7 separate regions of the Homo sapiens genome follow, and all the other regions are linked to region 3. Evidence: promoter capture Hi-C in 16 types of primary human blood cells and fetal thymus (Javierre and others, 2016). All regions are on one chromosome and are shown on one strand. The core of a region is centred on a gene start or on the middle of the fragment in contact, and the rest is flanking DNA. Distances in the headings are between cores, read along the strand shown. Region 1 has its middle 42 kb from the start of PARAIL. Region 2 overlaps PARAIL (palmitic acid regulated anti-inflammatory lncRNA). Region 3 holds the start of OTUD6B (OTU deubiquitinase 6B). Region 4 has its middle 530 kb from the start of PARAIL. Region 5 has its middle 72 kb from the start of OSGIN2. Region 6 overlaps RIPK2 (receptor interacting serine/threonine kinase 2). Region 7 overlaps PARAIL (palmitic acid regulated anti-inflammatory lncRNA).

Evidence for each region. Contacts are between HindIII fragments. The CHiCAGO score rates a contact against its expected background, and 5 or more counts as called.
Region 1: a fragment that was not itself captured here is called in contact with the fragment with the promoter of OTUD6B in region 3 in 2 of 17 cell types (neutrophils and activated CD4 T cells); the score reaches 5.7 in neutrophils.
Region 2: a contact is called between a fragment that was not itself captured here and the fragment with the promoter of OTUD6B in region 3, in 1 of 17 cell types (total B cells). The highest score is 7.0, in total B cells.
Region 4: a contact is called between a fragment that was not itself captured here and the fragment with the promoter of OTUD6B in region 3, in 1 of 17 cell types (activated CD4 T cells). The highest score is 6.9, in activated CD4 T cells.
Region 5: a contact is called between a fragment that was not itself captured here and the fragment with the promoter of OTUD6B in region 3, in 6 of 17 cell types (total B cells, neutrophils, naive B cells and 3 more). The highest score is 7.8, in total B cells.
Region 6: a contact is called between a fragment that was not itself captured here and the fragment with the promoter of OTUD6B in region 3, in 9 of 17 cell types (total CD8 T cells, total B cells, total CD4 T cells and 6 more). The highest score is 13.0, in total CD8 T cells.
Region 7: a fragment that was not itself captured here is called in contact with the fragment with the promoter of OTUD6B in region 3 in 4 of 17 cell types (total CD4 T cells, naive B cells, total B cells and 1 more); the score reaches 8.1 in total CD4 T cells.

The regions. Positions count from the first base shown.
Region 1 is chr8:89,713,701-89,717,035 of GRCh38, reverse strand. No RefSeq gene overlaps it. Among named protein-coding and RNA genes, the nearest start is that of PARAIL, 42 kb to the left of the region's middle. The HindIII fragment of the contact is 6,818 bases long and covers 1-3,335 here.
Region 2 is chr8:89,748,351-89,751,456 of GRCh38, reverse strand. All of the region lies in intron 1 of PARAIL (palmitic acid regulated anti-inflammatory lncRNA), which reads left to right. Among named protein-coding and RNA genes, the nearest start is that of PARAIL, 7.8 kb to the left of the region's middle. The HindIII fragment of the contact is 321 bases long and covers 1,178-1,498 here.
Region 3 is chr8:91,069,057-91,072,424 of GRCh38, reverse strand. It overlaps OTUD6B (OTU deubiquitinase 6B), which reads right to left and starts at 2,081. Exons shown (of 7, transcript NM_016023.5): 1 at 1,959-2,081; 2 at 1,136-1,287. The coding sequence starts at 2,040. It overlaps OTUD6B-AS1 (OTUD6B antisense RNA 1), which reads left to right and starts at 2,236. Exons shown (of 3, transcript NR_110438.1): 1 at 2,236-2,494; 2 at 2,603-2,846. RefSeq lists an enhancer at 1,854-2,033. The HindIII fragment of the contact is 11,349 bases long and covers 594-3,368 here.
Region 4 is chr8:89,229,329-89,232,228 of GRCh38, reverse strand. No RefSeq gene overlaps it. Among named protein-coding and RNA genes, the nearest start is that of PARAIL, 530 kb to the left of the region's middle. The HindIII fragment of the contact is 464 bases long and covers 1,300-1,763 here.
Region 5 is chr8:89,828,650-89,831,918 of GRCh38, reverse strand. No RefSeq gene overlaps it. Among named protein-coding and RNA genes, the nearest start is that of OSGIN2, 72 kb to the left of the region's middle. The HindIII fragment of the contact is 6,814 bases long and covers 1-3,269 here.
Region 6 is chr8:89,789,779-89,792,949 of GRCh38, reverse strand. It overlaps RIPK2 (receptor interacting serine/threonine kinase 2), which reads right to left. Exons shown (of 11, transcript NM_003821.6): 11 at 1,886-2,871. The coding sequence ends at 2,534. Among named protein-coding and RNA genes, the nearest start is that of RIPK2, 34 kb to the right of the region's middle. RefSeq lists a silencer at 2,542-2,742. The HindIII fragment of the contact is 1,194 bases long and covers 1,248-2,441 here.
Region 7 is chr8:89,732,026-89,735,356 of GRCh38, reverse strand. All of the region lies in intron 1 of PARAIL (palmitic acid regulated anti-inflammatory lncRNA), which reads left to right. Among named protein-coding and RNA genes, the nearest start is that of PARAIL, 24 kb to the left of the region's middle. The HindIII fragment of the contact is 9,223 bases long and covers 1-3,331 here.

The sequences.
Region 1 (3,335 bases), core at 410-2,909, 1.4 Mb after region 3:
AGTAGAGGTATCTTCCTATATTTGTAAAAAGAGGTATCCAGCAAGTAATTTGACATTTAAAAAAGATTTCTGGAGATCATTTCTGCTCTGGCTATAATGGGATGACAGAGACTACATTTACTGTGTACCTCAAACAAATAGAAAATTGGACAAAACAATGTTTTCAGGCATAATAAACAAATTGAACCTTATTATTACCTCAGCTTGGCTTGCCACCTAGAGGCAGTTTTCGAGCTTTAATAGATGGAGGGTTTATTAGTCTGTTTTCACGCTGCTATAAAGAATGACCTGAAACTGGGTAATTTAAAAAGGAAAGAGGTTTAATTGACTCACAGTTCCTCATGGCTGGGGAGGCCTCAGGAAACTTACAATCATGGTGGAAGGTGAAGGGGAAGCAAGGCATGTCTTTAAGAGGTGGCAGGAGAGAGAGAGAGACAGAGAGAGAGAGAGAGAGACAGAGAGAGCAAAAGTGCAGGGGAAACTGCCGCTTTTAAACCGTCAGATCTCATGAGAACTCCCTCACTATCACAAGAACAGCATAGGGAAAACTGCCCACATGATCCAGTCACCTCCCACCAAGTCCCTTTCTTGACACATGGGGGATTACAATTTGAGATAAGATTTAGGTGGGGACACAGAGCCAAACCATATCAGAGGGAAACCTCGAACAGATCCTGGCAGTCTACCTTAGTGGAGGGATTAGAAATTAGAGTTCATGGAGACTAAAGTGGATAGAGATTTTGGGTGGGGGGGGGGGGTTGGTGAAGAGAGAGAGAGAGAGATAAGAGAGAATATACCCAGAGATCACAAAGGGGTCCCTTGAGCCTTGGTATGTGCATGTGAGAGAGAAAGATACCCCTGGCAGGGGTAAGAACTGCTGGGAGGCAATAAGCCAAATAATTCCTGAAGCTCACTTAAGGCTGGGAAGAGTTTGTGTTCCCATCAGTTAGAGTGGAAAGACCTTATTACACTGTATTATATAGGGGCATTGAATAGAATCCTCAGAAGAATACCTCAGTAGTGAAGTTAGTAGTGAGGCTAAATTAGCCCTGGACTAAAATATACTCTGGATTTCCCTAACAAGCCTCAAAAGAGGTAGACTGCTACTAAGTAACATAACTGCGTGCTAGAACAAAGCCTAAGACTACTAGAAGGGTTACAACAAAATCTACCACCCTATTAAGTGAGGTTTCAATGTCGCAAAGCAATAAAACATTTACCAGACAGTAGAAAGAATAAGAAACCTAACCCATAATCAGAAGAAAAATGTCAATAAATAGAAACAGCACCAGAAATGACAGAGGTGATGTAATGACTAAAATTGTCTATTGTAAATATGCTTCACATCATGAGTAAGGTATAGGGAAGCATGAGCATGATGAAGAGAGATATAGATAATAGAAGAAGACAAATCAAAGTTATAGAGATGAAAAATACAATAGATTCTTCATTTCATCTCTGAAATGAATAGATTGAACGGGATCAACAGCTGATTAGATACTGCAGAAGAAAAGATGAGTGAAATTGAAGGAGCAATAGAATCTATCAAAAATGAAGCTCAGGGAGAAAAATGACTAATAGAAAAATGAACAGAGCATCAGTGACCTCAGGAACAAAGTCAGGAGATCTAATATAATTGGAACCACTGAAGCAAGGTGGAGGAGTGTAAAAAGAGAAGACATAATGGCCAAATGTTTGTCCAACTGTCATGAAAAGTATAAACTCATAGATCCTAGAAACTCAAAGAATCCTAAGACGGAAAAGCATCCTAAGAAAATCACACCAATACACATTGTAATTGAATTTTAGAAAACCAGTTTTGATAAAGAGAAAAATCATAATAGCAGCCAGAGGAAAAAAAAAAGGCACTGTCTCAACAGAAACTTCTCATCAGAAACTACACAAACTGGATGACAGTCCTCCAAGTGTTGAAAGAAAAAAAACCTGTCAATCTAGAATTCTATGTCCAGGTTTTTGATTTTTTAAAAATAAAGGTGAATAAACAATTCTCCAGACAAACAAAAGAGGTAAAATTCATTGTCAGCAAACTAAATATAAGAAATATTAAGGGAAGTTATTCAGGCAGAAGGAAAATGATGCCAGATGGAAACTTGTGTATTCACATAGGAATAAAAAATGCCAGAAATCATAAATATATGGATACATGAAAAATACTTAATTTTCTTAGTTTTTAAGTCTCTTTAACAGATAATTGACTGCTTAAAGCAAAATAGAAATAATGTACTGTTGGCTTTATAACATATATAGAAGTAAGGTATATGATAAGGACACTGTAACTTACCATAGTTGTGTTAAGCAGCTTCTAAGATGCTCCCCAACAGTCTCTGCATTCTACTGTTCAACTCTAATATAGTCTCATCCTGCATGGCATAGGGCCAAACTCTGTAAAGAATAGAATATGGAGAACTGACAATGTATGGATTTTAAGCCTAGGTCAAAAAGATATTGGAGCTTCCAACTTGCTCCTTTTTGCATTGCTCCTCTGAGGAAAACCCAACTGCCATGTCCTGAGGATGCTCACATCTACAGAGAGTTTACATGGAGAGAAACTGAAGTCTCCAGCCAAGACCCAGCATCAACTTCCCAGTTACGTGAGTGAGCCATCTTGGAAGCAAATTTTGCAGCACCAGTAAAGTGTTTAGATAACTGCAACCCCTTTCGACATCTTTTATTTATTTATTATTATTATACTTTCAGTTTTAGGGTACTTGCGCACAATGTGCAGGTTAGTTACATATGTATAGATGTGCCATGTTGTTGTGCTGCACCCAGTAACTCGTCATTTAACATTAGGTATATCTCCTCATGCTATCCTTCCTCCCCACCCCACCCCACAACAGGCTCTGGTGTGTGATGTTCCCCTTCCTGTGTCCATGTGTTCTCATTGTTCAATTCCCACCTGTGAGTGAGAACATGCAGTGTTTGGTTTTTTTGTGCTTGTGATAGTTTGCTGAGAATGATGGTTTCCAGCTTCATCCATGTCCCTACAAAGGATATGAACTCATCATTTTTTATGGCTGCATAGTATTCCATGGTGTATATGTGCCACATTTTCTTAATCCAGTCTATCATCGATGGACATTTGGGTTGGTTCCAAGTCTTTGCTATTGTGAATAGTGCCGCAATAAACTTACCTGTGCCTGTGTCTTTATAGCAGCATGATTTATAATCCTTTGGGTATATACCCAGTAATGGGATGGCTGGGTCAAATGGTATTTCTAGTTCTAGATCCCTGAGGAATTGCCACACTGACTTCCACAATGGTTGAACTAGCTTACAGTCCCACCAACAGTGTAAAAGTGTTCCTATTTCTC
Region 2 (3,106 bases), core at 89-2,588, 1.3 Mb after region 3:
CTTCTTTCTTCATCCTTTTCTCTTAATGAAGTGCCTTTAAAACAGGTTTTCCCTCTTGTACAATTGATTCTTTTAGACCCAGTGTTATTGTTTGAACCATGTTTCCCAAAAAGATGTTGAAGTCCTAACCCTCAATACCGATGACCGTGACCAACCATATTTTGAAATAGAATCTTTACAGCTGATCAAATTAGGATAAGGTTATTAGGATGGGACCTAATCCTGACAGTGTCTTTATAATGAGGGGAAATTTGTACATCATGACAAGCATGCATAGAGGGAAGATACTGTGAAGACATAGGGAGAACACTATCTGCAAGCTATTGAACAGACTAGACTACCAGAAGCTAAATGAGAAGAATGGAATGGATTCTCCCTCATAGTCATCAGAAGGAACCAACTCTGCTGGTGCTTTGATTTTGGACTTCTAGCTTCCAGACAATAGATTTCTGTTGTTTAAACCATTCTGTGTAGTTTTGTTATGGCAGCCCCAGGAATCTAATATACTCAGCTACAATTTAAAAATACTTTTTAGGATAATTATAAATTTATAGGATGTTGCGAGGATAATACAGAGAGGTCTCATGTATCCTTCATTCAGTTCCCGCCAGTGGTTATATCTTACAGAATTGTAATACAATATAAAAACCAGTAATATAGCATTCATCCAATATATATATATTGTTCTGTGTCATTTTATCACATGTGTAGATTCCTTTATCACCACCCCAGTCAAGATCCAGAACTATCCCACCACAAAAAAGATTTCATTTATACTCTTTACTTTCACACTCACCCCCTAACTCTCCCACCATCCTTAATCCCTATTAATCACTAATCTATTTCTACTCTATTACATTAATGGAATCATAAAGTATGTGATATTTTGAGATTGGCTTTGTTCACTCAGCATAATGACCTTGAGATTCATCCAAATTGTTGCTTAGAATTAGTATTTGGTTCTTTTTTTATTGCTAAATAGTATCCATTGTATAGTGTATCACAGTGTTTTAACCATTCACCTGTTGAGTACAGTTTATGCTCAACCTTCATTATCCCAGAGAAGTGCTTAGGTGTCCCAGATGATTGATTGGTCCATGAAATGCTCAGTGGTCTGGATACCATACTGTCTGAGGGAGAGGGATGCACAGCTGGGCAGAGCTGGACCAGTAAAGCTTGCACTCAGTTCCTTCAATGGTGGCTTCCAGCCCCAATGGGGATCAGAGGGCAGTCCCCAGGTCCCTGGAGAAATGCCCAGGTGAGGAGTGGTGCAATGCTGCTGCCCCAAGGTCCCAGCACAGGGATGGAGGGGTGGTCCCAGTGCCATGCCACAGCCAAGTGAGAGGGAATGTATTTTTTCATAGTTATTGTAACTGAAATTGCCTTTTTTTATTTGGTTCTCACCTTGATCATTATAAGGGTATAGAAGTGATACTGATTTTTGTACATTTCTTTTCTATCCTGAAATTTTACTGAATTCATTTATCAAATCTAAGCTTTTTTTTTATCGAATCTTGAGGGTTTTCTAGATATGAGGTCATATCATCAACAGAGATATATTGACTTTCTCTTTTCCAATTTGGATGCCTTTTATTTTCTTTACCTTGCTTAATTGCACTGGCTAAGACTTACAGTATTATGCTGAATATGAGTGGCGAAAGTGGGAATCCCTGTCTTGTTTCTAGTTCTTAAAGAGAATGCTTTCATATTTTCCTCATTCAGTATGATACTGGCTGTTGGTTTGGCATACATGGCTTTTATTATTTTGAGGTATATTCCTTCTATGCCTAATTGGTTGAGGCTTTTTATCATGAAGTGTGGATGAATTTTTTCAAATGCCTTTTCTGCATCTATTGAGGTGATCATGTTTTTTTCCTTAATTATGTTTATGTGATGAAGCCCATTAATTGGTTCACATATGGTAAATGATCCTTGTATATGTGGTATAAAACCCACTTGATGATGCTGTACTATCTTTTTGATGTGCTGTTTGATCTGGCTTGCTAGTACAGTGCCTAGGATTTTTGTATGTATGTTAATCAGGGATGTTTATCTGTAGTTTTCTCTTTTTCTTGTGTCCTTATATGTTTTTGGTATCAGCATGATACTGGCTTCATAGAATGAGTTAGGAAGAATTCTCACCTCCTCAATTATTGTAAACAGTTTATCTTTTCAAAAGCAGTATTTTGGCTGGGTGCAATCACGCACACCTGTAAACCTATCACTTTGGGAGGTCAAGACCAGAGGAGTTCAGGACCAGTCTGGGTAATATAGTAAGGTCCAATCTCTGAAAAACATTTTTTTTTAATTTTTTACAAATTTGTTGAGCATGGTGGTTTGTGCCTATAGTCCCAGGTACTCAGGAGGCTGAAGTGGGAAGATTGCTTGAGTCTAGGAGTTCAAGGACATAGTAAGCCATAACTGCACCACTGCACACAAGCCTGGGTGACAGAATGAGACCTGGTCTCCAAAAACAAAACAAAACAAAACAAAACAAAAAAGAAAAGCCCTTTTGTTTCATTGACCCTTCCTATTGTTTCTGTTTGTGTCTCTGTTTCTTTTAGTTCTGCTATAATCTTTCTTTTTTTCTTCTGCTAACTTTGGGCTTGGTTTGTTGTTTTATATATAATCAACACCTTGAGATGTGATGTTAGGCTATTAATTTGTGATCTTTCTTTTTTTATTATACAGGCATTTAACACTGTAAACTTTACTCTTAGCACTGCCTTTGCTATATCCCAGAGTTTTCATGTGTTTTGCTTCCATTTTCATTCACTTATAATTTCCATCTTCATTTCATCATTGACCCAAAGATTCATCAGGAGCACGTTGTTTAATTTCCATGTATTTGTATAGTTTACAAAGTTCCACCTGGTATTGATTTGTAGTTTTTTTTTTTTTTTTTTTCTTTTTGAGACGGAGTCTCGCTCTGTTGCCCAGGCCGGACTGCGGACTGCAGTGGCGCAATCTCGGCTCACTGCAAGCTCCGCTTCCCGGGTTCACGCCATTCTCCTGCCTCAGCCTCCCGAGTAGCTGGGACTACAGGCGCCCGCCTAATTTTTTGTATTTTTAGTAGAGACGGGGTTTCACCTTGTTAGCCAGGATG
Region 3 (3,368 bases), core at 832-3,331:
CCTTCATATCCAAAACCCATACAATAAATACCACACTATACAAAGCTGTAACAGAATTCAGTATTCACTTCCTGGAGTAAGATAGTTCTCATTTGGAATTCTGGCTTTGGCAATCAACAGCTGTTACGACTCCTGGACAAAGTTCTTAATCTCTCTAACCCTGTTTCCCACTTGAAAAATGGGATTATGTATACTTACTTCATAGGTAATACCTCACAGTGTGTTACTGAGGTTAAATGAGATAATACATATAAACCAAAGTATTTGACACATATATATTAGATCCAACGATAAAATAAATATTAGTTAAAATTATGAAAGTTAGGATGCTCCAACTTACCCAAGAAACATCAGTAAAATTTCATTCATTACAACTTGTTAATAAAGCACTTTTATAACAAAAATGACTTCACGTTCACTTTCTTGATTCTTACAAAAACCTGTGCTTAGAGTGTAGAAATATTTGTATCGTATTATATATGTGGGAAAATTTGAGCTCAGAAAGATTAAGTAACCTTGCTCAGGTTACAATCCCATTCAGTCGCAATTCTGGGATCAGATGCCTGGTCTTCCAACTTTGATTTGGTGAAGCTTCATCTTTTGGGCAAGTAAATAGGTAAAGAAGTATAGCACTTTCTTTGCCGATCTCCCTTATAGAAACACACTGCCCTGTAAACTTGGTCACAAAAACATTAATGAGAAGTGATGCATGAGCATAACTAAGTGATTTCATTTCCCTACCAATTTTATGATTTTAGATAATAAACAGTTTAACAGGGCCGGGCACGGTGGCTCACGCCTGTAATCCCAGCACTTTGGGAGGCCGAGGCGGGTGGATCACAAGGTCAGGAGATCGACACCGTCTTGGCTAACATGGTGAAACCCTGTCTCTACTAAAAATACAAAAAATTAGCCGGGCGTAGTGGCGGGCGCCCGTAGTACCAGCTACTCGGGAGGCTGAGGCAGGAGAATGGCCTGAACCCGGGAGGCGGAGCTTGCAGTGAGCCAAGATTGAGCGTGTTTTGCAAAGCGAGACACCGTCTCAAAAAAAAAAAAAAAAGCAGTTTAACATTTAACAGAAGTGGACAGCTGTTTTCAAATGGTGTAGGCAACGACAAACATTTATTTCACATACCTTATTCTCCTTAGTAGTCAGCTTCAATTGCTCCAGTTCCTCTCTATGTTTCTGTTCCATTTCTTTTTCCAACTTGGCCACATCTTCGGTGAGTTGCTTCCTCCTCTTCTTGTCATTCTTGGGAACAGCATTCTTCATGCCCTGAATTTTGGCTGAAAAGCCATTAAAATCATTAAGTCAGACACGCAGGAGTAAAAGGAGATGAGAAACAGGAACCAATAAGGGGATGGTAACGGGCGAAGGGTACAGAAAAAGTAATTATGGAAGAAAGAGTCATCACGTAACAGGCAGCTACAGAGAGAGAAGATCCCAGATAAAGCTGAGACCAAAAAAAAAAAAAACTTCATTAACAAAATCTTGAATATGTTTCGGTTGTTTGGCGAGATAAGAGAAGGAAAAAAACCTGACTGTAGCCAGTTTTAAATCTTTCCGGTATCCTTTCTGAACCTCCTAAACTGAGGCGGGTCCATTCAAAATACACCCATTAGGGACAAGTATCGGTAACTGGGGCAGGTATAGAAAAGGGAGGCATCGTGGGTTTGGGAGCGGACCAAGACGGCGGCTTCTAGGTATTTTCAGACACCTGCACCCCGGCGGCGGCGCGGGGTAGGGGGCACGCCGCAGGCCTCAGAAGGGGAAGCCTCTGAAGGTTGGGGAATTAAAGGGCCGCCGGGGTAGGTGAAGAGAGAAGAGGCCACTTGCTACTAGGGGAAGTCTAGGGTGATCCAGATAAGTCACGCCTTGAGATTCCCCAGAATCGACCCGCCACGCGCCCTTCCCCCAGTCGCGGCGGCTTCCAGATTCCCACTTCCTTCCGCCTCACCTTGCAACTCCTTCTTCTCTTTGCGATGCCTTCTCAGCAGCTGCTCTTCCTCATCAAGCTCTTCGGTCAATACCGCCTCCATGACGACCAGGTACCCCAGCACACGCGCTAGAAGAAACCTGCACCGGCTAGTAGGCACCTTCCACCCCTCAACCCTCACCCGGGGCTCCATTGGCTACGGCTGGGACCCAGCCCCGCCTTCAAGGCGGCACCGGATCTAAGCAAAGCCACTGCAAAGACGAGAAACTTAAATGGGGTGCTGCGCGTGCGCGCTACCGTGACCCTGCCGTGATGGGCGGGGCGGCAGGGGAGGAACCAGACTGCGAGCGGAGAAGCGGAGTTTGCAGCCTCGGAATTGGCTAGAGCGCCAGAGCCGAGTCAGCCATAAAGCTACGCGCTAGGCTCTTGGCCCTGACGTGAGGCGCGCAGAGATGGCGTAACGGGAATAGTTTTCAACGTCTATTTCATTCCCTGCTTCAGAGGACCTCTTTAATCTTTGATTTTGGTCCCTGTTTCTAAGAAAAGCAACTGAAAAGGTAAGAAAGAAAAATAACGCATTTTAATAAAGCCGTCGATAATTATCAATGGGAATCTTTGGGCTGTTTGGGGCTGTGTGGAATTAAATTATGTTTATTGTCTCCAAGGTCGTAATACCGCCCCTGAGAAAAAAGGAGCAGCGCTAAATAATCGAGAAAATGCCTCCTCTTGAAACGGATATAGAGATGGAAACAAGATATAAGAAGGATTGAGAATCATATAATACAGGAGCTTAAACACCTATGCGCGATGATAAAGAGGGTACTATTAGAGCGCTTGGAAAATACCAGGAAGTTGAGAGAGTTAACAGAAGGGCGCACGCTGGATTGGCCACAAAATCGAATTACTGAAGTAAGTGCAAAACGACAAATTGTCACAGAATACAGAGAAAAGGGGAAAAGAAATTAAGAGGAGAAAAAGAGAGATCTAGAGGGCCGGTCCAGGAGATACAATCTATGCATAATAGGAATACCTGAAACTGAGGACAGAGCAAGTGGAGCTGAAACAATAAAGGATCTACTTGAAAAAATTTTCCAGAATTGAAGAACGAACTAGATCTACAAATGGAAAAGGCTCATAGGATACCTTTAAAGTTTAATGAAAAGAAAGCAGCATCTAGACATATCCGGGTGACGTTTTTGAATTTCAAAGACGAAACATTTTACAAGCATCCAGTCAGAGAAAGCAGGTTACTTACAAAGGGGCAAAAGTCAGGCTGACCTCAGATTTTTCTCCTGCAATTCTAAATGCCAGAAGACAGTGGAACAATATCTAGAGTGTTAAGGGAAAATAATTTTGAGCCAAGAATTATATACTCTGCCAAGTTATCATTTCTTTACAAAGGAAACTGGAAGACATTCTTAGATATACAGG
Region 4 (2,900 bases), core at 282-2,781, 1.8 Mb after region 3:
CAGTGTCTGACTTATTTCACTCAATGTACTACTGTGGAGTTCATCCACACTGTAAAATGTAGTTGTACATAATTTATTCCCTGTTCTGTATACTGTCCAATAGCGTGAACACCAAAATGTATGTATGTATTTATTTATTGATGAACATTTAGGTGTTGCTAGTACAGACTATTACACAAGCATTACTATGAACATTTTGGTACACGTCTTTTGGTTTATGTATTCCTTTGGTCTGAATGTTCATGTCCCCCCAAATTTATATGTTGAAATCCTAATCCCCAAGGTGGTGATATTGGGAAATAGGCCTTTAGGAGGTGATTGAGTCATGGAAATGGAGCTCTCATAGGTGAGACTGTTGCCCTCACAAGAGAGGCCCTAGAGAGACCCCTCCCACCATATGAGGGCACAGTGAGAAGGTGTGCCATCTGTGAAACAGAAAGCAGACCCTCACTAGATACCAAAGCTGCTGGTGACTTGATCTTGGACTTCCCAGACTCTAGATCTGTGAGAAATACATTTCTGTTCTTTATAAGCCACTCAGTTTATCTTATTTTGTTATAGCAGCCCAAATGACCAAAATACGTGTGTACTCATTTCTGCTATACACTACATTGGGTCATAGCATAAGCTTATCTTCAGCAATAGCAGACAAAAGGATTTCCAAAGCAATTTTTCTGATTTATATTTATACCAGAATCCATTAGGATTTTGGTATTCCAAATTTTGTGAGACTTATATTTTCTTCTTTATAAAATTGTAGCCTTTATGGAAATGTGTTGTGATATGTTTGATTTCCCAATTCATTTCCGTGATTACTAACTACCTTTTCACATGTATACTAGCCATTTGAATATATTCTTTTGTAAATATCTTTCAAGTCTTTTGTCCAATTTTCTACTGGGTTGTTCATCTTATTAATTTATAGATATTTATTAGGTATTCTGGATATGAGTTATCAGTTGAATATATAAATTATAAGTATCTTTTATCTTCTCCTAGTCTTTGGGTTGACTTTTCCTTCTTTTAATGGTGTCGTTTATGTACAGTTTATCAATATTTTAAATCCCATTTTAGTATTTTTTTTGCATCCTCTTGAAGGAATCTTCACCTACTCTGAAGTCACAAAGTAGTCTTCCTCTATTTTTTTTCTAGAAATTTTGTTGTTTAACTTTCACATTTGTACCTATAATCCACCTGGGCCACATAGTGGTTCAGACGATTTTCCCCAATGCATATTGAAATGATTTAGGGCCATTTTTCTAAAAGAATGTACTTTTCCCTCCACTCTACTCTTAAGCTTACCTTTATCATAAAATCAGGTGTTAGAGATGGAATGTTTGCATCCTCTAAAATTTATATGTGAAGTCCAATTACTTTTAACTTAATTATTGTTGTATTTGGGTTTATATCACTATCTTATTAATATTCTGTATTTGGCCCATTTCTTTTATGTTCCTTCCCAATTTCTTCTTTCTTTCTTTTAGATAACCAGATGTATATTTTTAAACATTCCCTCTCTTTTATTTAATTAACCTGTTATACATTCTGTCACTGTTCTTTTATGCCAACTTTAGAAATTATAACTTTATCCTTGTCTTATTATGATCTAGTATGGAATATGCTTTTATAATTTCCCCAATAGTGCTAGAATTTTAGAACTTTTAAACTTCATTTATTCCTCTCCAGTTCTTTGTGGCTGCTTAACACAGTTTTGGTGTCCCTTTTCCCTATTGAGAACTTTCTGCTTGGGACATTTAGAAGCTTTAGACAAGCACAGTCATCCTACACACAAGATTTCCGGATTCCCTGCAGAGAAATAAACATCTGGTAATCATCAGCTTATCTTGAAAAGTTACATCTTTCTAGAAGTTTAGTTAATCGAATAATCTTCCTTGCTTTTAGAAATCCTTGAAGTCTTTTAAAATATGAATTTTAATTTATGCAGCTTTCTTTAGTTGTGGCAGTAAGAGTTGACCTCACTGTGATCAACTGCATCTGATTGGGAGGTGAAGGTCTTTTGTGTGTGTGTGTGCTGTTTTAACACTGTAAAACAAGTTAAGTCAATATCTCTTACCAATGTCTCCAATTTTAGTCTCTTGTTATTTATATTCTATACCAACGAGGATTTCTATAGACATACACAAAGGTTATAAGCTGGGATTTGATTATTAATATCTTTAGGATGTATACTGTAAAGAACAATAGTTGCTTTAAAATTCCCACACTATCTATGTAACTGCTTTTAAAGCAAAACACTTTTGCTATTAGTTAACAGGTCTTCAGTGTGTTTAAGTGTGTACAATGCATTTAATTTTGCACATTAGAAAATTGCATATGAGAAATCAATTCAAAATGGCTAAAACATAGCAGTGCTATTTGACCTCAAAATTGTTAAACGGCCCGGCACGGTGGCTCACGCCTGTAATCCCAGCACTTTGGGAGGCCGAGGCAGGCGGATCACCAGGTCAGGAGATCGAGACCATCCTGGCTAACACAGTGAAACACTGTCTCTACCAAAAATACAAAAATTAGCCGGTTGTAGTGGCGGGTGCCTGTGGTCCCAGCTGCTCGGGAGGCTGAGGCAGGAGAATGGCGTGAACCCGGGAGGCGGAGTTTGCAGTGAGCCGAGATGGCGCCACTGCACTCCAGCCTGGGCGACAGAGCGAGACTCCCTTTCAAAAAAAAAAGTTGTTAAACGGACTCCAGTAATCAGTAAAGCAAACAAAGTGAACAGGGAATCTAGTTTATTTTCTTTGTTATTCTACTTCAGAGTTTAAAACAAGGATTAATCATAATCAAATTTCCTTTTTAGAGACATTATTTTAGATTACTCTGGGTGCTTGTTTTCCAGACAGGTCAAGCATCCCTGCATATGGTGGCTATATTGGGGAAAAACTTGG
Region 5 (3,269 bases), core at 431-2,930, 1.2 Mb after region 3:
AGTGTAAATGACTTTCAAATGAATATTTTTAATGGGGGCATTCCGATAAAATTTTTAAATGTGAATTCCAGTTAACAAAAGCATTGTTCCTATGTGATAGAATTAGTGCTATTGGTATTCTTAGTTTACAAATGAGAAAACAGAGCCTTAGTAAGGATAAGGAACATGCCCAAAGTCACATAGTTCCTAAGTAACTAAATGTGATTTGGATCAGGATTGTCATATTCCAAAAATCTGTTTTTGACCCAACATGCTATACTACTAATGTTATTTTGTATTCTCTTATTTTCTCTTTCTTCTTTTTAAGAGACGAGGTGTTGCTCTGTCACTTGGGCTGGAGCGCAGTTGAATGATTATAGCTCTCACCGCAGACTCAAAAACTCCTGGGCTCAATCAATTTTTTTTTTTTTTTGAGACGGAGTCTCTCTCTCTCACCCAGGCTGGAGTGCAGTGGCGCGATCTATCTTGGCTCACTGCAAGCTCCGCCTCCCAGGTTCACACCATTCTCCTGCTTCAGCCTCCCAAGTAGCTGGGATTACAGGCATCCTCCACTATGCCTAGATAATTTCACATCTTTAGTAGAGACAGGGTTTCACCATGTTGGCCAGGCTGGTCTCGAACTCCTGACCTCAGGTGATCTGCCCGCCTTGGCCTCCCAAAGTGCTGGGATTACAGGCGTAAGCCACTGCACCTGGCCTCAATCGCTTCTTCTGCCTCAGCCTCACAAACAGCTGGGATCCTAGGCGCAGGCTACCATGTCAGGCTCTGCTATTTTCATTTGATATGTAATCATAAATATTTTTCTATGTTTTTTGGGATATCATTTTTATAAGCCACGGAATTCTCCTCCAAGTTGATGCATAGTTTCTTTTGTTATTGTTTGTTTTTATTCTTACAAATAAGAGTATAGTTAACAAGTTAACATTGCCACACTTATCTTTTCAATTCTGTTAAATTTTATCCTTACGATAAATTCCTAGGTATGTATGTTTGATAAAGAGTAGGTTTTTAAAAAGTTGTCTTTGTTTTTCATAGGTATTTTTTTTTTCTTTTTGAGATGGAGTCCCACTCTGTCACCCAGGCTGGAATGCAGTGACGCGATCTCAGCTCACTGCAACCTCTGCCTCCCAGGTTCAAGTGATTCTCCTGCCTCAGCCTCTCGAGTAGCTGGGATTACAGGTGGCAGCACAATGCCCAGCTAATATTTGTGTTTTTTTTAGCAGAGACGGTGTTTCCCCATGTTGGCCAGTCTGGTCTCAAACTTCTGAAACCAGGTGACTCACCTGCCTCAGCCTCCCAAAGTGCTGGGATTACAGGCGTGAGCCACCATGCCTGGCCTCTTTCTCATAGGTATTTCTTTTATTTAAAAAATTAATAAGACGTGCAGGACTCGGTATGAACAAAGAAAAAAAGGAAATTTTAAAAATAAAAAACCATACAAATAATGCATAAATAAATGCTAGTTGAGAAATTCTCAAGCCATATGGTGAGGCAATTTCAGACAGTATATATTTTACCTACTTTGATTGGATTTGGTCTTTCAGGCTATATTTTCCTTAAGCACATGAATCCTATAATTGAGAGCCTGGCATAGAATCAGTAGCTAAAAGAATAATAGATAATGAGTTGAAAGATGTCTTCCAACAGAAGAGACAGCATAGCTACCATACTTTGCCAAAACAATAAATTGATTTATGGTGTTATAGAGATGCAATTTTAAATTCACTGGTATAAATTTCCAGGTTTGTATACTCACAATGTATACAGTCATGCTTACTATGTTAAGAATCTTTTTAAAGAAACTTTTATAATGTAGTTCCTCATGGATTATTATTTATATCTTCATCAATCCGCCTTTCAGTTTCCTACTCTGAGCTTACTCTTACCCAGGAAAGCTCTTTAAACTAATCTCACTTCTCGTGATCATGAACATCCCTCAGCTTACTCACTCTCAAGGTCATTATTTATTCATTTAGCCAATAGATAATTGCCAAGTCTTCTAGATGCTGAAGCTAGAGCAGTGTCTAAGAGACAAATAAGATCTCTGTTTCTGTGGAGTATTGTTGGAGGAGGCAGATAACACAAAGAAATGGGCATTTTAAGATTGTAATAAATACTATGAGAGTAAAATGGAGATGGGGCCTAAGAGTGGCTCACACCTGTAATCCCAGCACTTTGGGAGGCCGAGGTGGGTGGATCACGAGGTCAAGAGATTGAGACTATCCTGGTTAACATGGTGAAACCCATCTCTACTAAAATTACAAAAAATTAGCTGGGCGTGGTGGTGAGTGCCTGCAATCCTAGTTACTTGGGAGGCTGAGGTACGAGAATCACTTGAACCTAGGAGGTGGAGGTTGAAGTGAGCCAAGATGGTGCCATTGCACTCCAGCCTGGGTGGCAAGAGTGAAACTCCATCTCAAAAAAAAAAAAAAAAAAGGAAAAAAAAACAACAACGAAAAACAGGGAGATGAGACTGAGATTGTCTAAGGCAGGGCGTTGGGGGAAGAGGGTTACTCTCATATGGTGATAATGAAAGGCTTCTGAAAGCATCTGAGCTAAGACCTAAATGATGAGGAATGAGCATTCCAGGTGGAGGGAGAAAATCCCCTGGGGAAGCCAAAGGTTTGTCCTACAAAACAGAAAAAATGCCAGAGGGAGTAAGTGCATGTGGCAGGAGGTGAGCTTGTCGAAATTTTTTGGGAACTGATCATATTGGACAGTGTGGGTCATGCTAAGAACCCACAATAGTTATTATGCTTGCAAGGGGAGCACACTTTGGAGGTTGTTGAATAGGAGAGTAAAATGATGTGATTTACTTTTTAAAAAGATGATCTGGCTGCTGTATGTCTTGTCCAAGATCAATCTCCACCCCATCTTGTGATAACATCCAGTGTCTAGCACATAGTGAGTGCCGAATGACTGAGCACAAATTATCCATTCCATTTCCAATATCTTCTGTATAATCTCTCCTTAACTGTCCTTTCCTTCCCACTTCTCTGACCACAGGAAAAATCCTTATTCATTAAGATTCAGCTAAAGCATTACTGTTCTGGGAAGCCTTTCTGATCTGCAGAGCTGAGTGAAATACCCGCCTCTATGCAGTTTTTGGACATTGTGCTCGCTTCTGTTATAATACTTAACATAATTATCGGTTAGGTTGTCTTCCCTCCCTATAGTGCTTAGCAAGGCCTATTTCTTATTCTTACTTAATCTTCAGTGACTATGTTAGATGATCTGCACATAGTCTGTTCACCTAAACTGCCCTTAAC
Region 6 (3,171 bases), core at 595-3,094, 1.3 Mb after region 3:
AATCGCTTGGAGAGTTTGTTAAAACAGATTCCTAGACCTCACCCCCAGAGACTGAATCAGTCGGTCTGAGATAGGAGCCATGAAGTTTCATTTCTAACATGCTATAGGTGATGCTAAATGTAGCCAGTCTGTGCACTGTACTTCTGGGTAGCACTGTCTTAAAATGCACTGCAAGGAATGACATCTCTAGCATTATCTAGTACTAGCTAGTTAAAAAATAAATTACTAGGTCCCTTCCTGGAGTGACTGAATTTTAATCTGTCATTTTCTTACTACTTCTATGATTGCTGGCCCATTCATGTCCTATCTATATTATAATTTACTTAATAGTACTTAAATTGTCTTTATTTAAATATTATGTAATAAAACTTTAGTATAAACAGAAAACTATTACTTGTCATATGTAGAAGTATAAATTTCAAATAGAATGCAACAAAAAAAACCATAAAATTCTTGGTAAATAGTCTCTGAAGTTCTGAGCCTAAAGCCTATTCTCATTTTGTTAACGAGGGGGATAAAAAGATGTTAGCAAAAAAATTGAGATATTCTCCTTTATTTAATTATAAGGCTCAAAAAAGAACGGAAAAGAATGTCCTTTACTAAGTGACTCAAATGCCATTTAGTGGTGAGCCTACATATGACCTAAAATAATCCCACTTACTACTAGCTGTGCTTGCACTACATTTTTGGAAATAAGATTTAAAGGAAACATCTCCCCTTCTCTATGTTTTCATTCCATTGCACTATTCATTAAAGAGTTATTCAAAAAGTGCCTACTCTATGCCAGACCCTGTTCTACACTAACTAGTCATACTCAGCATAATCTGTCTCATCTTCCTCTAAGTAGCAGTTACTAAATAGGGGTTATAATAAAAACCAACTGCTGAGATTGTAACAATCCCATGAAGAGATGATGAGAGCTCACTGCAGATTCATCTTAATCCCTGACAACATCTTCTTACTTATCAACATGTTATTATTTACGCAGAAAAAGTTTGCAGAGCTGTGATGACGGATGACTACACGTGTCTTCCATACAGAAAATTGTGGGAGAAAGTGACTGTAAGCACATAGCCATAAAGCACACAAACTATGAGTTTTTAGATCTTTGCAGAGAATAAAAAACAAGGCAAAGTTCATTTTATCAATCCAGATATACCTCATGAAATCAGTATAAACATCAATTTGAGGCCATCAATAGTCAAAATAATTTCTTTTTAGAGTATGTATAGAGAAAAGGGAAAGCTTCCAAAATAATTTTCTCTATTTATTACTTCACAAATAAAATTTGCATCTTAATGCTTTTTAAAATTTAATAGATAACTCATGTGTTTAGTTTTCACTTTTCCCTATTAATTTCCATATTTCTGAAAGGCACAGTAAGAGGTACAAGTTAATGTCAAGCTCTAAAATGGAGATTAAAATGCTTATATTTCTAATTAATATTTAATTACCTCAATGGCATCTAATTTCTTTTATTCAAACTTTTCAGGTTGTGGGTCTGTTGCTTCTTGAAAGTTCATCTTTTCAAATTTATTCTGTATCTCACTTTCTGCTGACTTCGCTACGCAGTTTCAGAAAAGGGCTATTATTCCTTGTAAGTTCTCCTATAGTAATATAACCTATTAACCAAAAAAGTGCTCACACCGTACTTTTATTGTTTGGGCTAAATTTGATATGGACAAGTTAAGAAAATAAAAACTGTGGGTATTAGGCAGCAAGTAAAAAGAGTAAGTTAGAGCCATATCTGATCTGGAAGGCTGTACTATTAAATGCAAAAAGCAGGTTGCAGTATGATGTATAATTATAATAATAATATGCAGAAAGATCCTTTCTCAAATGAGCATATGTTCTAAATATAAGCAGGAAGAAAGGGACAGAAAGATACACATCAGGCTGTTGACTTTATTTAGCTTGGTTGTTGGTGACAGTAGGGAAGGCTGAGGTTAAAAATGGGGACAGGAAGCCGGTATTAATATATTTATTTTTTTCTTTATATTGTATTGTTTTACCTTTGAAATATCATTTTTAAAGGGAATTCATAAATAAAACTTTAAAATGTAATCCTAATAATGGAGTTTTAAATTAATAACCCTTTGTAGGGCAATTAAGCCTGGGATTTTAGGGCAGGGATTCTGTACTGTCTCTGGTGGGTAAAGGGTATATACTTCATAAAATCAAATTGCATCTTAGACAAGTAACAAATAATCCATGAAGAACATGAATGTGAAAATGGCTTCCATCAGAAATACATCATACCTTAAGGCACTGTTATAAACAAGAATAATTACTATCCTTTAAAAGTGGTTTCTGTTAACAAAAGAGACATAAAAATTGAACTATGTAGCAAAATTCAAACTTTTTACTTGTATTAATTAAAAAAAATACTGCAGTGTCATGGAGGGAGACTAATATTTACCCAAAGAACCTTCAATAAAGCTTTAATACTCACGGATTTTATATAAAAAAAGTCAAAGCAACAGAGATATAAATATCCTTTTATGAAACACATTTCTTCTTGAAAAACAGTCACTTACATGCTTTTATTTTGAAGTAAATTTAAAGATGGTGATCTAGAAACCACAAGTATTTCCGGGTAAGGCTGAAGACCCATTTGTTTGTTATCTTTCAATTTTTGTACTATAACTTTGGCAAATTCTTCTCCTTGGATGTCAGTAGTGTCTAGTAATTGTCTGACTTTTGAGGTCCTTGTAGGCTTGGTACTAACAAGTTCATAGTCCTCTTTCATGATCAAGTCCCTGGACAGAAGGGCATCTAGCGACTGGTTAAGGCAGGCTTCTGTCATTTGGTTCACAATGTCTTCCCTTTTGCTCTGGATCCACTGCTGGGCTATACCAGGCTGCAGACGTTCTGAAAAAGAACAAGGAATGAATAATTTAAAAGGTGAGGACAGATACATAGCAATAAGTAAAATTCCATGAAAAATAAATAAAGCATAAAACATAATTTTCCTATGATTGTGCCAATATGGAACACCAACACTTTGGGGAATGGTGTCATTTTTCAGGAAACATTCAGAGATTTGGGTTATCTCCCCCTCACTCCCCAGAAAAGGCATTGCCTTTTCCTATGGTATAAATCACGGGGCAAAAACCACTTTATGTCATCATTTCCATCTTCTGGGATTTGTTCAGTTTTGTTTGATGTCCA
Region 7 (3,331 bases), core at 649-3,148, 1.3 Mb after region 3:
TATTTATTTTTCTTGCCTAATTGCTCTGGTAGGACTTCCAATATTATGTTGCACAGAGGTGGTAAGAGTGTGCATCCTTGTATTATTCCTTATCCTAGAGGAAAAGTCATCATGTTTTCACCATTGAATATGTTGAAGTCATCATGTTTTCACCGTTGAATATGTTAGGTGTGTGCTTCTCATATATGGACTTTGTTGTGTTGAGGAACATTCCTTCTATACCTAATTTGTTGAGAGTTTTTGTTGTGAGAGGAGGTTTAATTTTGTCAAATGCTTTTGTGCACCTATTGAGATGATCATATGTTTTTTGTCCTTCATTCTGCCAATATAGTGAATCACATTTATTGATTTGTGAATGTTGATCATCTTCACATCCCAGAGATAAGTCCCATTTGATCATGGTGAATGATCCTTTAATGTACAGTTGAATAGAGTTTGATAGTATTTTGGTGATAATTTTTGCATCTATGTTCATCAGTGATGTTGGCCTGTACTTTTCTGATAGTGACTTTGGCTTTGGTATCAGGGTAATGCTGGCCTTGTAAAATGAGTTTGGAAGTATTCTCTTTTCTTCAATTTTTTGTTAGAGTTTGAGAAGGATTGATATTAGTTCTTTAAATGTTTGGTAGCATTCAACCATGAAGCCATTTGGGTCTGGGCTTTTCCTTGATGGGACATTTTTGACTACTAATTCAATCTCTTTGCTCATTATTGGTCTGTTCAGATTTCTGATTTCTTTATGATTCTGTCTTGCTAGGTGATATGGTTTGGTTGTGTCCCCACCCAAATCTCATCTTGAATTGTAACTCCCACAATTCGCATATGTTGTGGGAGGAACCTGGTGGGAGGAGATTGAATTATGGGGGCAGGTCTTTTCTGCACTGTTCTCATGATAGTGAATAAGTCTCATGAGATCTAATGGTTTTTAAAAGGGGAGTTCCCCTGCACAAGCTCTCTCTCTCTTTGCCTGCTGCCATCCATGTAAGACGGGACTTGCTCCTTGCCTTCTGCCATGATTGTGAGGCCTCCTCAGCCACGTGGAACTGTAAGTCCATTAAACTTCTCTTTCTTTTGTAAATTGCCCAGTCTCGGGTATGTCTTTTATCAGCAGCGTGAAAACGGACTAATACAGTAGGCTATTTGTTTCAAGGAATTTATTAATTTTTTGTATGTTGTCGAATTTGTTTGTATATGATTGTTTATATTAGTCTCTTATGATGCTTTCTGTTTTTGTGTAATAAGTTGCAATGTCTCCTCTTTCATTTTTGAAATGAGTTTTGGTTGAGTCTTCTCCCTTTTTTTCTTAGTCTAGCTAATGGTTTGTCAATTTTGTTTACCTTTTCAGAAAAAAACCTCTTAGTTTCATTCATCTTTTGTATAACTTTTCTAGTCTCGATTTTATTTACTTTTGCCCTGATCTTTCTTATTTTTTTCTTCTTCTAACTTTGGGCTTAGTTTGTTATTCTTTTACTAGTTCTTGGGGTGGAATATTAGTTTGTTTATTTGCAGTTTTCCATTTTTTTGAGGTAGGGATTTACTGCTATGAAATTCGCTCTTAGAACTGCTTTTGCTACCACCATAAATTTTGGCATGTTGTGTTTCCATTTTTGACTTAGTGTTTCCATTTTAAAATTTCCCTTTTAATTTCTTTGACCAAATAGTTGTTCAGGAGCATATTGTTTACTTTCCATACAGCTGGCAATTTTCCTGATTTCTCCTGTTATTTACTTCTAGTTTTATGCCATTTTGGTTGGAAAAAATACTTGATATGATTTTGATACTTTTAAATTTGTTAAGTTTTCTTTGTGGCTTAACACATGATATATCTGGGAGAATATTCTGCATCCACTTGAGAAGAATGTGTATTCCATTGCTGTTGGGTGGCATGTCAAGTACATGTCTATTATGCCCATTTGGTCTAAAGTATAGTTCAAATCCAGTGTTTCCTTATTGATTTTATTTCTGGGTGATCTGTCTTTTGTTGTAAGTGGGGTATTGAAATATCCTATTATTGTGTTGCAGTGTGTTTCCTTTCAGATCTCTTAATGTTTGCTTTATTTCTCCATCTTTTTTTATTTTTTGGCAGGATTTTGCCCTGTTGCCCAGACTGGAATGCAGTGGCACAATCACAGCTCACTGCAGCCCTGACCTCCCAGGCCCAAGCAAACAGCTGGGACCACAGGTGTACACTACCATACCTGGCTAATTTTTAAATTTTTTGTAGAGTTGGGCTCTCCCTATGTTGCCCATCCTGGTCTTGAACTCCTGGGCTCAAGTAATCCTCCTGCCTTGGCCTCCAAAAGTGCTGGGATTATAGTCATGAGCCACCATGCCCGGCCTGCCTTATATATTTAGATGCTCTGCTATTGGGTGCACACACACACACACATTTATGTATATATTTACATATATATATTTACAATTGTTTGCTCCTTTTAATGAATTAAACCCTTTACCACAGTATAATGACCTTGTCTCTTTTTACAGTTTTGACTTAAAGTCTATTTTTTTCTGAAATAAGTATACCTACCCCTGCTGTCTTTTGTTTTCTATTTGAATGAAATATATTTTTCCCTCTCTTCATTTTCATTCTATGAGTATCCTTTAAGATGATGTGAATTGTAGACGGCATACAGTTGGGTCTTATTTTTTTAGTGCAGACATTTGCTCTGTGCATTTTGATTGAAAAATTTAGTCCATTTACATTCAAAGTAATTATCGGTAGGTGAAGACTTACTAGTGCCATTTTGTTAATCATTTTCTGGTTGTTTTGTAAATCCTTTGTTTCTGCTTTTCTCTGTTGCTTTCTTCCTTTGTGGCCTGATGGCTTTCTGCTGTAGTATGCTTTGGATCTTTTCTTTTTATCTTTTGTATATCAAATATAGGCTTTTGCTTTGTGATTATCCTGAGGCTTACATAAATCATCTTATAATGTGGTATTTATCTTGGAAACAACTAAATTTTGATCACATATAAAACTTTAAACTTTTACTCCCCTTCCTCTCACATTTTATGTTTTTGATGTCTCACTTTCATCTTTTTATAATTTGTATTCCTCAACAAATTACTGCAGCTTTAGTTGTTTTTAATAGCTTTGTCTTTTAACCTTTATACTAGAGATATAATGGATTTACCCACTGCCATAACAGTGGCAGTGTTTTGGTTTTGACAGTGTAGTTGTTTTTATTACCGGGTTTTATACTTTCATATGTTTTCGTATTACTAACTAGTGTCCTCTTCAGCTTGAAGAACTCCCTTGACATTTTAACACAAGTCTAGTGGTGATAAACTCTCTCATCTTTTTTTGTCTGAGAAAGTATTTATCACCTCT